Linked DNA regions of Homo sapiens: all the other regions are linked to region 4. Evidence: promoter capture Hi-C in 16 types of primary human blood cells and fetal thymus (Javierre and others, 2016). All regions are on one chromosome and are shown on one strand. The core of a region is centred on a gene start or on the middle of the fragment in contact, and the rest is flanking DNA. Distances in the headings are between cores, read along the strand shown. Region 1 has its middle 220 kb from the start of BMP7-AS1. Region 2 has its middle 190 kb from the start of BMP7-AS1. Region 3 has its middle 250 kb from the start of BMP7-AS1. Region 4 holds the start of FAM209B (family with sequence similarity 209 member B).

Region 1 (2,937 bases), core at 372-2,871, 460 kb before region 4:
TAGAATAGTGGGGATCAAAATGATGAAAATAATAAATATAAAGCTCTCAGCATAGGGCCTGGCATAAAGAAAGCTTTCATCAAATGTTGTTTATTACTATTGCTATACATTTGCTATGGTGCCTAGAACGTAAATGCTCAAGAAATAATAGTAATAACAATAGTAATTATTTATTTATTGAACAGTTCTTGCCAAACACTGTGTTAAGTGCTTTGGCTACATCCTCCTGCTTACTCCTTGCAACAACACTATAATCAGGATACATTTATTCTCTTTCATAAATAAAGACGCCCTGGGAGGTGAAGCAATTTGCCCAAGCCACACAGGTAGAGGCCGGATAGCAGTCGGTTACAGGCCTCTTGGTCCCGAGTCCCTGATTGTCACACCACGCTGTACTCTCCTGCAGTAGGAGTTCTTGGTAATGGGGATATGGGAATTTTCCTTATTCTGTGTCCCTAATCTAGTCCAGACCCCTCCTCACTGAATCAAGGCACCCTGGGCTAATGGACCTTTGAGAGGAAGGGACACTTTCCCCATCGGAGACCAAGCTGAGACTCGGGAAACTAGAAATTGTCCCAAGCCAGGGAGCCAGCAACAGGGTTGTTTCGCCCTGAGTCCTGGCCCGGGGCTGTCGCAGCCTTGCTGAGCTGTTACCGGAGCCCCAGGCTTCCCATATGCAGCAACTTGACTCCTAAGGCTTTGCAAAGGCTGGGGTGATTCGGAGCCTGCTTCTCTGGCTTCACCCAGATCCTGGAGGCCAGACAGGCCTCAGGAGCCTTCCTCACACCCAGTCCCAGAGCCACCAGGCAGGGTTAGCCTCCTGGGGCGGTGGGTGGCGGGAGGCAAGCTGCTGGGCTGCAGTGCGGACAGATCCCGCCACCAGGTGGCACAGGTGAGGTGCTCTGACTTTTTTGTTGTTTTTCTTTTCTACCTTGATGAAAGCGCTGCCATTTGCTGAACCCCAGCGGCAGGGAACACGTGGGCTCAAGGTGAGGGTCTCAGGACCTGAGGAGATGGTATTATGTACTATTTGAAGCTATTTTTTTGTGATTCTAAAATGTACCATTTTCCCCCCTCTGCCGAGCTAGTGGCGACCCCACAGCCCCACACCCCCAGTGCCTGGTTTGCAATAGATGCTCCAAACAATGTCTAATCACTGAATAAATGAACAAACTCGTGAACGTGTCCAAAGGGCTGTCTCTTCCTTTCCGGAACCACTCACCCTTGGGTGCTGCCGCACCTCCAGCAGGCCAAACCCTGGGGGCGGATTAAGGAGCAGATGCTTGCTCCACAGCTGGCCCATCTCCAGGTGTTGCAGAGGGGCCCAGACTGAGAGCGGCGCCTGTGAAGGGTGGAGGAGATGGGAGTGAAAGGGCAGGCCGGGGAGCAGACGTCTTGACTCTATCTCTGCCTCTCCCAGGAGGCCACAGCCATGGGTGCTGAGTTACCCAGAATGGCTTTCTGAGAATTTAGAGGAGCCCCTCTACTGTGACTACCTCCAACCCCCTGGAGGAGGCCAGAGCCAGCTCCCATAGAGTTGATTTATCTTCCTATAGCTTCAGAAAGTAGAATGCTGTCAATGTCACCAATCAGCCACCCAGCTGTTCTTTGACCTTAGATGCTTCCTCTTGTCGGAGATGCTTTCTGGGGTCTCCAGCTAGCTGATCACCTCCTTTCTCTGAGACCTCCCCACTAACCAGAAGAGGGGTCCCCCAAGCAACCTGTTTCTGCCTGTGGCTAAGAATCACTGAGCATTTACTGCATCGCAGGTGCTGGTATTATCTGTCTCCTCCTCTAGAATGTGAGCTTTGCAAGGCGTTTTTCTCACGGTTGTAGTCCTAGCACCTAGAACTGTTCCTGCACATATTAAGTGTTTCGTAAATATTTTTTAAAGATAGAATGAATGCCTCCTTATGCATAATCTGATTAAACCTTCCCAGTGACTCTGTGAGGTAGGTGCAAGCATTATCCTCACTTTGCAGATGGGGAAACTGAGGCCCAAGGTCACACAGCTGGAAAAAGGTAAAGCTGGGATTTGAACTCAGGCCTGTTGGACTTCACCTTCCACATTCTTCCCAGCATGCCTCACTCCCTCTCCCCAGCAGCAACTCCTGCCAACCTAGGAGGCGGTGGATTGAGATTTTGCAATGAGAAGTCCAAGGACTTTTTCTGTCCTTGCAGGGCAGTTTAAAAGACAAGAGACCAGACTAGCCAAACCTCTTCTTTCAGGAAAAGCTCCTTCCAGCTTTCAAAGACTTCCCAAGAGCCTCCCTCAGGGCCCTGGGTGGAGGGATCCTGTTGGCGAGGGAACCCTGGGTGGGTGGAAGACAGCTGGGAAGTTTATGGAGTATTCACACTACACTAGAGCAGCTTAGAAGCGGGTCTTCCTCCCCGAGTCTGGGCAGCCCTTGCTGCTGATGTTTGCCCAGCATCCGTGACGTGGCTGCTCTTCCTTACTTGGACACAGACCAAGAGAGAGGGCACCAGGCTTCTGGCTCCACAGGAGGTGGAGAGGGCAGAAGACCGCCTGTCACTTTAGGAAGGCTGGCTGCCAGGGAGGTCAGAGAGGGGCAGGGGCACATGTTGGTTCTGGGGTCACAGACCAGGGTGAGGTTCCAAGAACCGCATTGACTGGTATTTTCTAAATAACTCGTTTTGTTCCATGAGTGTTATGTGTTGAGAGCAGAACATGGGATGGGGCTCTGGAGTCAGCAGTCCTCAGTTCAAGTCCTGGCTCTGCTACTGACAAGAGAGGTGGCCTAGGGCAAGTTAGCTTCTCTGAGTCTCAATTTCCTAACCTGTCAATAGGCCTGACAATGGTCTGTCTCATGGGGTTATGAAGAGGAGTGAGACAAGCCACGTGCAGTGCCTGGTGCACAGTGAACTGGAAACGGCTCACCACCAGCACATGGCAGAGGAGGAGTCCTGCGATCTCCT
Region 2 (3,014 bases), core at 19-2,518, 490 kb before region 4:
TCATCTGTTTGTTTTAGCAAAGGTGTTTTGAAAGTTACATGGAAAAAGTAGTCAGACCATGAGGTCCTTGAGGAGCCCCGGGAAAGCACTGGTAAGTTGGAACAAATGTTACAGATTCCCTCCAAGGTTTCATTGAGGGTGTCTTGGAAGCTTTTGGGGTCATACTCCCCACCCCAGGGAGATTATATAATTGGGCAAAAAGTCATAATTGCCCACGCTCTGCCAGGATCCTGGTAGTTGAAGACACGGACTCAACTATCTCAACATAAGGTAGCCCAGAACCATGCAGAGATCACCCAGGCCAGCTTGGAGGCCCTGCTTCTGCCTTGGTCCAGGCCTGTGGTATAATAATAGCATTTCCTGGGCTTTTCTGGGGAGATTTTATCAACATTGGCAATGACCCGAGGGCAACAGATGGGAGGCTCTCTAAAAGCAACAAGTACTATCGTCCTTGCAGTGTGAACCCACAATGCATAACTCTGAGGCCACAACCACACACTACATGTAAGGGGAAAATTAAGTTCCAGAGAGCTCACTGATGATGGGACCACTCACCAGGAGAACAGCAAGGTCTCCTCTTGACTCGCAAAAGAGATGGCAGATGCCATCATTAAAGAGCTCACAGAGTCCTGTGAGTTCCCTGTGTCCTGCCAATAAATTCCCTTTTCCTTACATCAGCTGGTCAGTTTCTGTTGCTTGCACCCACTAAACCCTGGTGATTTATACCACGTGAAGAATTTCGCAGCCCAGTTACAAACACTGGGTCCTGTGTGCAGCCACAGTGAAGGCCTGCCCTCTGTCCAAAGCTAGAGGTAATCAGGGTGAATAAAGGCTTGTGTGTTGGAATGTGTGAAGGGGTTTGTCATGGGGTCAGGGGGCTATAAAAAGCATGATCTACTCCTAGCCCTTCCCTTTCTGTGTCGATGGTTTCCACCTTGTAATGGATGCATGCTGTCCGTCCAGCATCCTTCCTTTGGGAAAATGCATCTCCTCCGTTCCCTGTGGTTGAGGTAGCACTGAGTTGAAGGAAGGATAATTTTAACCCAGACTCCAAGGCCCTGAATTTTCCATCCACATCAGTACCTGCACTTTTAGATCATGATTTGGCTGTCTGAAGTCTCCATGTCAACAACTTGGAGTTTTCTCCTCCAGTAACTGATTGGAGCAAGCCGGGGCTCTGGGCATCAACACCATCTGCGGAAGCATCATAAGACCCACACTTTCCCTCCTCTCATGGTCCAGCCAGAGATCCTGCTTCTGATTGGCCCCCTCCCATTGGGCTGTGACGTCAGAGCCAGGGGCCCCCTTCTCACTGGCTTACTTACCCTTAAGACGGGGGCAAGTTGGCTGACTATTGGCCAAATTGCTTCATATTACTGCGAAAGAGTCGTTTAACAAGAGTAGAAATCAACAGAGTTCCACCGCCAGGGAGTTGAAACCCCTACAGCGTTATCTCGGATTCATGGTTCCTATGAGGCCAAAACACACTGAACTGACACATCCACATGAGGAGATCTTTGCTTCTCCTTTTCAAGGGAACTCAACTGAATTACACTGGGCAATTTTCAATACCCACGTGCCATATTGGTTTCCCAGGGTTTCTGTAACAAATGACCACAAACTGGGTGGGTTAAGACAACAGAAATGGATTCTCTCTCCGCGTTTTCTGGGGCCAGAAGTCCAAAAGCAAGGTGTCGGCAGGGCTGCGGTCCCTCTGAAGGCTCCAGGGGAGAATCTGTTCCTGGCCTCCTCCAGCTCCCAGTAGCTCCTGGCATTCCTTGGCTTGTGGCCGCCTCATACCCATCTGTGCCTCAGCCTTCACATGGCCTTCTTTTCTCTGTCTCACTGTGTGTCCTTTTTGGTCTTATAGAAGATCACCCTCATTGGATTTAGAGACCACCCAAATCCAGTATAATCTCATGTTGATCTTTACCTTATCTACATCTGCAGCGATCCTATTTCCAAATCAGGCCATATTCTGAGGTTGCAGATGGACATGCATTTTGCAGGGAAACTGTTCAGCCCACTACACAAGTGGGCACTGGCTTTACCTTATCCCAGCTTCAAAGCCAGGGTCATTGTGAACAGACTTCTAAGAAATGTTCTCTACCCTCCCACAGCACCTAGTAGGAGGCACCCCATGGGAGTCCAGGAGAGGCCTGTCTGGTGATTCAGTGGTTTCCATGCCCCTCAGCTAAGTAGCTGATTATGTACAACAAGGATCTGCAAACTCTAGCCCCTGGGCCAGCAGCCTGTTTTTATAAATAAAGTTTTATTGGAACATAGACTCATCCATTCATTTCCATATTGTTTATAGTTGCATTCATCCTACAAAGGCAGCACGTGTTGACCGGCTGGAGTGAGACTCTATGGACCACAAGCTTAAAATGCCTGCTGCATGACCCATTACAGAACAGTTCCCCAACCCCTGATGTGGAAGAATGAAAAATTCTCTCAACCCAGCAGGTGTGTCAGAATTTTTCTAGGGTAGATAATTGGGAATTAGGAAAATACCCCAATAAATATTCAAGGATGAAGAGGCCAGTACCCAAAGAAAGTGTCAGAAAGACAAGACACTTGAATTGATTAGGCTTAGCTAGATTTAACTGTTTTAGAAACAAAGCTGGCGGGGAAGAGCCAGGAGAGGGAGACAGGGGACGAAGCTGGGGCTCCAACTGGTAGAAATGGCAAATAAATTTTTGGCAGAACACTCTTTCTTTTGAAGTCACCCATGTTGCAGCAGAGCGACCCTCTGTTTTTGCCTAAATTTTCAGCCATCAACTGTAAACAGCAGCAAACACAGAGGCCTTGTGGGAGCCTGAATTGGAAATCAAGGGAAGGGTCTGGGTTCCACAGCCAGATGCCGCCAGTTGAGGGCCAGCAAATATGGACAATAAGAGGCGCTTTAGTTGGACACCAGAGGGAGCCCAGCTAGAGGGGACCAGGAGAGAGAGAGGCACGCCCTTCCCCGTAACCCCAGCAAGACCTGGGAGACACACTCTGCATCTCAAAGG
Region 3 (2,700 bases), core at 18-2,517, 430 kb before region 4:
TGGTTCTGCAGGGCAGGGGTCTTAGGGCCCACTCAGGAGTCACAGTCTGTATGTCTCTGCTCCTCCACCCTGGGAGGGGGCCGCTCTCCTTACTGTAATCATTCAGCCCTGGCACAGTTGTATTACATCATGTGTTACTGGTCCATCTCTCCATCTTCTCTCCCATTGGACTGGGATCCCCTTGATAACAGGGATATTGATTTGCTCTCTTTCATATCCCTAGCACCTCTCATGGTACCTAAAACATTGTAGGCATTTAGCATAAATTTGCTGAGTGGATAAATGGATGATTGATGCGTGAATGAATTAAAATGTATAAAAGCTGGTGCTCAATGCTTTAAGGGACTTGAAGAGCTTATCTGGGCCCACACTACATCTTTGGTTATCACCCCATTTTTCAGATGACACAGCTGAGGGTAAGGGAGCTTATGAAATGCTCCCACACCCTGCAGTGACAGGGTAGCAGTGAAGGTGAAGAGGAACATTCAGGATCCTTCTTGACCTCTCGTAATGGGCTACATTTCCTTCATGTTGACCTCATAGAAGATGTAGAATCTGCTCTTCCATGTCATTTGAAGAGGATCTCTCCCTCCTCGCAAGGCTGGGAGACATGAAGTAGAGGCAAAGAAGCAGATAGAACAGGCTCATCACAAGTTGATCAACCTGGCCATATGTATGGTTACTTATTACTGGGCAATAAATTATCCAGAACTTAGTGTCCTAAAACAGCAATAAACATGTATATTCTTCCAGTTTCTATGAGTTAGAAATACAGGAGCCCTTTTGCTGACCAGTTCTGACTCAGGGTCTCTCATGAGGTTGTAGTCACGAAGTTGACCAAAGCCACAGTCATCTGAAGGCTTGACTGGGGCTGGAGGATCCACTTCCAAGGTGATGTCCAAGGTGACTGACAATTTGGTGCTGCTGGTTGGTGAGGAGCTTCACTTCCTCCCCATGTGGGCCCCTCTACAGGCTGCTTAAGTGTCCTTACAACATGGCAGCTGGCTTTTCCCACAATGGGCAATCCAAGAAGGAGAGAGCCAGCAGAAGCTGTATTGCCTTGCATGAGTCAGTCTTGCAAGTCACAGATGATTATTTCACCATCCAGCCTGTCCCACATTGAAGGGGAGGGAATCCATTTTCACCTTCTGAAGGGAGAATGTTAAAGAAATTAAGAACATATTGAAACATGCTAAACTGCTTCCCAAGACCAGCCACTGGCTTGTCCATCCCTAGCCTAATGATGGTCAACTGGTTTGCCAGAGCACGCTGGTAGACCAGAAACTCGTGCCACCTGATGATGATCAATCTGTGGCACACACATTAGCCACATACTGTGTCAACAGTGTCTTTTACCTAATGCTTGTGAAGTGGGCACCTGAGGTTGAACAGCCTCTGGGGTGACAGCCCTTCCTAGGTTGGGAGCAGAAGAGAGTCCAGAGGGTCTTAGGGCCTAACTTCCCTCTTTCATCTCCAATACATGGAGACACCCCTCCTTTCCTTTTCCCAGCCACAACCTTCCAGGCTAAGAGACTGCTTTGCAGAGGAGACTTCCCTATCCTTATCTGCCTTTTGGAGGAGACAGAGCCAAACTTGGCACGTTATCTAGACACTCCACATTTCCCAGACTGCCCCGGTAGTGCCACTCATCTCAGAGCCGTGGAGAACATTCATTGCTCTGTGGACCTTAAAATCAGGCACAGTGTCAAGCTGGACCTGTCAGTCTACTCAGGGTATGAATTGACGCAACGTCTATGGAGGACAATTAGGCAATAGATTTCCTAATGAAAAAGACACACATCCTTTGGCCCAGCAATTCCACCTTGAATAACTTATTATCCCGCAAACATACTCCCACTTGTGAGACATAATGTGTGTACAAAGATAGGCATTGCAGCATTGTTTTTGGTAGAAAGAGACTGAAAACAATCTAATTGTCCATCACTGGGGGCTGGCTAAATAGATCGTGACACATCCATTCAACAGAATATTCCGTGGCTGTTAAAAAGAGAATGAAGCTCTTCTTTAAATACTAAAATGGAGCTACCTTCAAGATACATTGTTAAGTGAAATAAGCAAGATGAAAAACAGTGTGTATAATTTGCTGTAATTTATATAAAAAAGAAAACAGAAAGATTCTGTCTAAGTGTGTATTTATACACACAGAGTATCTGAGAAAATGAGAAACTGGGAGTAACAGACTGAATCATATGAAACTGTCATTTTTTTTTTTGGACAGGTTCCTACTCTGTCACCTAGACTGGAGTGAAGTGGTACAATTATGGCTCACTGCAGCCTTGACTGCCCAGGCTCAAGTGATCCTCCCATCTCAGCCTCCTGAGTAGCTGAGACTAATGGTGTACCACCATATCTGGCTAATTTTTGTGCTTTTGTGGAGATGAGGTCTCCCTATGTTGCCCAGGCTGGTCTCAAACTCCTGGGCTCAAGCCATCCTGGGATGATAGGTGTGAGCCACTGCATCCAGTGAAACTGCCATTTTTGTTGGTGGAAAACAAGTAAATATTGAAATGTCATGTGGGTTACCCCAATAGTAACAGTGGTTGCCTCTGGGTGTACAGGAGCAGGGAGGGAAGCTTACTTCCCTCATTATAACTTTTTCTTTGCCTTTGAAATGTTGCACCCATATGCATGATTTAGCTATTTCTATAATTTCATCTCATTTAGTTTTTTTTAAAAAAA
Region 4 (2,700 bases), core at 190-2,689:
CCTCTGCCTCCAGGGTTCAAGTGATTCTCCTGCCTCAGCCTCCCGAGTAGCTGGGATTACAGGCGCCCGCCACTACGCCCAGCTAGGTTTTGTATTTTTAGTAGAGACAGGGTTTCACCATGTTGCCCAGCTGGTCTCGAACTCCTGACCTCGTGATTCACCCGCCTCAGCCTCCCAAAGTGCTAGGATTACAGGGGTGAGCCACCGCGCCTGGCCTAATTTCTGTATTTTTAGTAAAGACGAGGTTTCACCATGTTGGCCAGGCTGGTCTCAATCTCCTGACCTCAAGTGATCTGCCCGTCTCGGCCTCCCAAAGTTCTGGGATTACAGGCATGAGCCACTGTGCCCGGCCTACACCTTTATCTCCTTACAGAAGTTTCATATTTTGTTGGGATGATATCATTTCCATTTAGCTCAGGAATTTTCAGTAAGTCAAGCACTAGGAAAAATGTAAAAAGCAAGGGAACAGTGAATTTGGCCCTGTGAATAATATAATTTTGACCTTCTAAAACACACCATAAGTTCTTTATTTTGAGACAGAGTCTCAGTCGCCCATGCAGGAGTGCAGTAGTGTGATCTCAGCTCACCACAACCTCTGCCTCCAGGGTTCAAGCCATTCTTCTGCCTCAGCCTCCCGAGTAGCTGGGATTACAGACACACGCCGCCATGCCCAGCTAATTTTTGTATTTTTAGTAGAGATGGGGTTTCACCGTGTTGGCCAGGCTGTTCTCAAACTCCCGACCTCAGGCAATCCACCTGCCCTGGCCTCCCAAAGTGATGGGATTACAGCATGAACCACTGCGCCCGGCTGAGTTCTTGAATCTATCCTACATTTGAAAAAATCCATCTAACCAGAAGAACTTTGAGCCAAGAAACTAGAGGTCATCTTCCACTGTTTGTCCCAATATCTGTGGATGTGGGGACTATTGTCTTCACTAAGGATACATCAGGAAGTGAATTTGCCAGCTTTGCCCAGGACCATGAGGTCGGTTCATTATACCCAACGGTGCCGCCTAGACTCACTAGAACATCCGTTTCCCTGAGACTCCTGAGATTGAATCAATATGGTGTAAAAAAAATGGAGCCATCCTTACCTTATTCTTCTCACTGTCTCTTTGACACTGCAGTATCACAAACGGCACAACAGCAAACAAAAGCCAGAGCCATTTGCTCCCAAGCCAGCCTTGGGTGTGCTCTGGTAGGTTCTGCCGAATCCGAAAGTGCTCTCCACACGGCACCTTCCCCTGGGGTTCGCTAGTTTTCTGTCTCAGAGAAGAGAACATAAAGGCATAGCTGCAGGTGAGGCACAGAAGCAGGACCAGGGACGATTTCAGCGTCCACATGGTGAGCAGAGATGGGGAAGGGAGTTGCTCATGACGGGTTTGCTTGCCCTCGCAACTGGAAGACTGGGCACCTGGTGCCAGGCCCTTGGTGATGTCACAGAGGCCCTGAGCTGAGGCCACCCTGGCCATTGTGATGATTTCAGGACAGAGGTTACAGGTCACAGGAGTCGCCCGGGAGGAGGACTCAAAGGGAGATGGGGGCATTTCCAGCAGGCAGTCAGAGAGAGAGGATAGGCACGACGGGGTGCCAATTCCCTGCCAGGGGACTCTTTCCAACCCTCGAGCTTTTGCTGGTAGAGGCCGTCATGTTTCTGTTTTTCATTTGTTTGATCCAAACACTATGATGAGCAGAGGGAGATGCCATGTGCCCCGTGGAGCTGAGTTAAATGGGAGAGAAAGATATTAAACCACAGGCTACCTACAAACTCGGAGCCACCTATGTGTTTTGTTTGGCCTATGTTGTTTCTAAAAATTATTAGTCAGTACTTAAATGTTGTGGGGGGTGGGTATTTCACTTTAAAAGTCCAGGTTTCCGGCTTCCTTTGAAAATATGAGAGCGTGGCCGGGCGCGGCAGCTCACGCCTGTAATCCCAGCACTTTGGGAGGCTGAGGCGGGCAGATTACGAGGTCAAGAGATCGAGACCATCCTGTCCAACGTGGTGAAACCCCGTCTTTACTAAAAATACAAAAATTAGCTGGATGTGGTGGCACACGCCTGTAGTCTCAGCTACTTGGGAGGCTGAGACAGGAGAATCACTTGAACCCAGGAGGCAGAGGTTGTGATGAGCCGAGATCACGCCACTGCACTCCAGCCTGGCAACAGAGCAAGACTCTGTCTCAAAAAAAAAAAAAAAAAAAAAAGAAAAAGAAAAAGAAAGAAAAGAAAATATGAAGAGTTCTGGAAGCACTGGGCCCACACTGTCATAGAACCAGTCTTCTGCTAGAGCCAAGTGAAATCATCCATCCTGTGGCCATATTCCCTCCACAGTCCCCACCACTCCCTATTACCACATACCATCATTGACAGCAGCAGTGTGTGCCTGCCTTGGGTTAAGAGTATACTTTGGAGCCAGGCCTGGTGGCTCACACTTGTAATCCCAGCACTTTGGGAGGCCAAGGTAGGCAGATCACCCAAGGTCAGAAGTTTGAGACCAGCCTGGCCAACATGGTGAAACCCTATCTCTACTAAAAATACACAAATTAGCCAGGCATGGTGGCATGTGCCTGTAATCCCAGCTACTTGGGAGGCTGAGACGGGAGAATCACTTGAACCCAGGAAGTAGAGGTTACAGTGAGCTTAGATGGCGCCACTGCACTCCAGTCTGGGCAACAGAGCAGGGCTCAGTCTCAAAAAAAA

What was found. The method cuts DNA at HindIII sites, captures the fragments that hold promoters and counts their contacts. A CHiCAGO score of 5 or more calls a contact.
Region 1: a contact is called between a fragment that was not itself captured here and the fragment with the promoter of FAM209B in region 4, in 2 of 17 cell types (fetal thymus and M1 macrophages). The highest score is 5.8, in fetal thymus.
Region 2: a contact is called between a fragment that was not itself captured here and the fragment with the promoter of FAM209B in region 4, in 1 of 17 cell types (M0 macrophages). The highest score is 5.4, in M0 macrophages.
Region 3: a contact is called between a fragment that was not itself captured here and the fragment with the promoter of FAM209B in region 4, in 1 of 17 cell types (erythroblasts). The highest score is 5.2, in erythroblasts.

What each region holds. Positions count from the first base shown.
Region 1 is chr20:56,993,723-56,996,659 of GRCh38, reverse strand. No RefSeq gene overlaps it. Among named protein-coding and RNA genes, the nearest start is that of BMP7-AS1, 220 kb to the left of the region's middle. RefSeq lists an enhancer at 686-1,214. The HindIII fragment of the contact is 3,092 bases long and covers 76-2,937 here.
Region 2 is chr20:57,022,453-57,025,466 of GRCh38, reverse strand. No RefSeq gene overlaps it. Among named protein-coding and RNA genes, the nearest start is that of BMP7-AS1, 190 kb to the left of the region's middle. The HindIII fragment of the contact is 2,231 bases long and covers 153-2,383 here.
Region 3 is chr20:56,961,088-56,963,787 of GRCh38, reverse strand. No RefSeq gene overlaps it. Among named protein-coding and RNA genes, the nearest start is that of BMP7-AS1, 250 kb to the left of the region's middle. The HindIII fragment of the contact is 2,659 bases long and covers 1-2,596 here.
Region 4 is chr20:56,531,985-56,534,684 of GRCh38, reverse strand. It overlaps FAM209B (family with sequence similarity 209 member B), which reads right to left and starts at 1,439. Exons shown (of 2, transcript NM_001013646.4): 1 at 1,095-1,439. The coding sequence starts at 1,343. It also overlaps a transcript of FAM209A not described here. The HindIII fragment of the contact is 5,101 bases long and covers 1-2,700 here.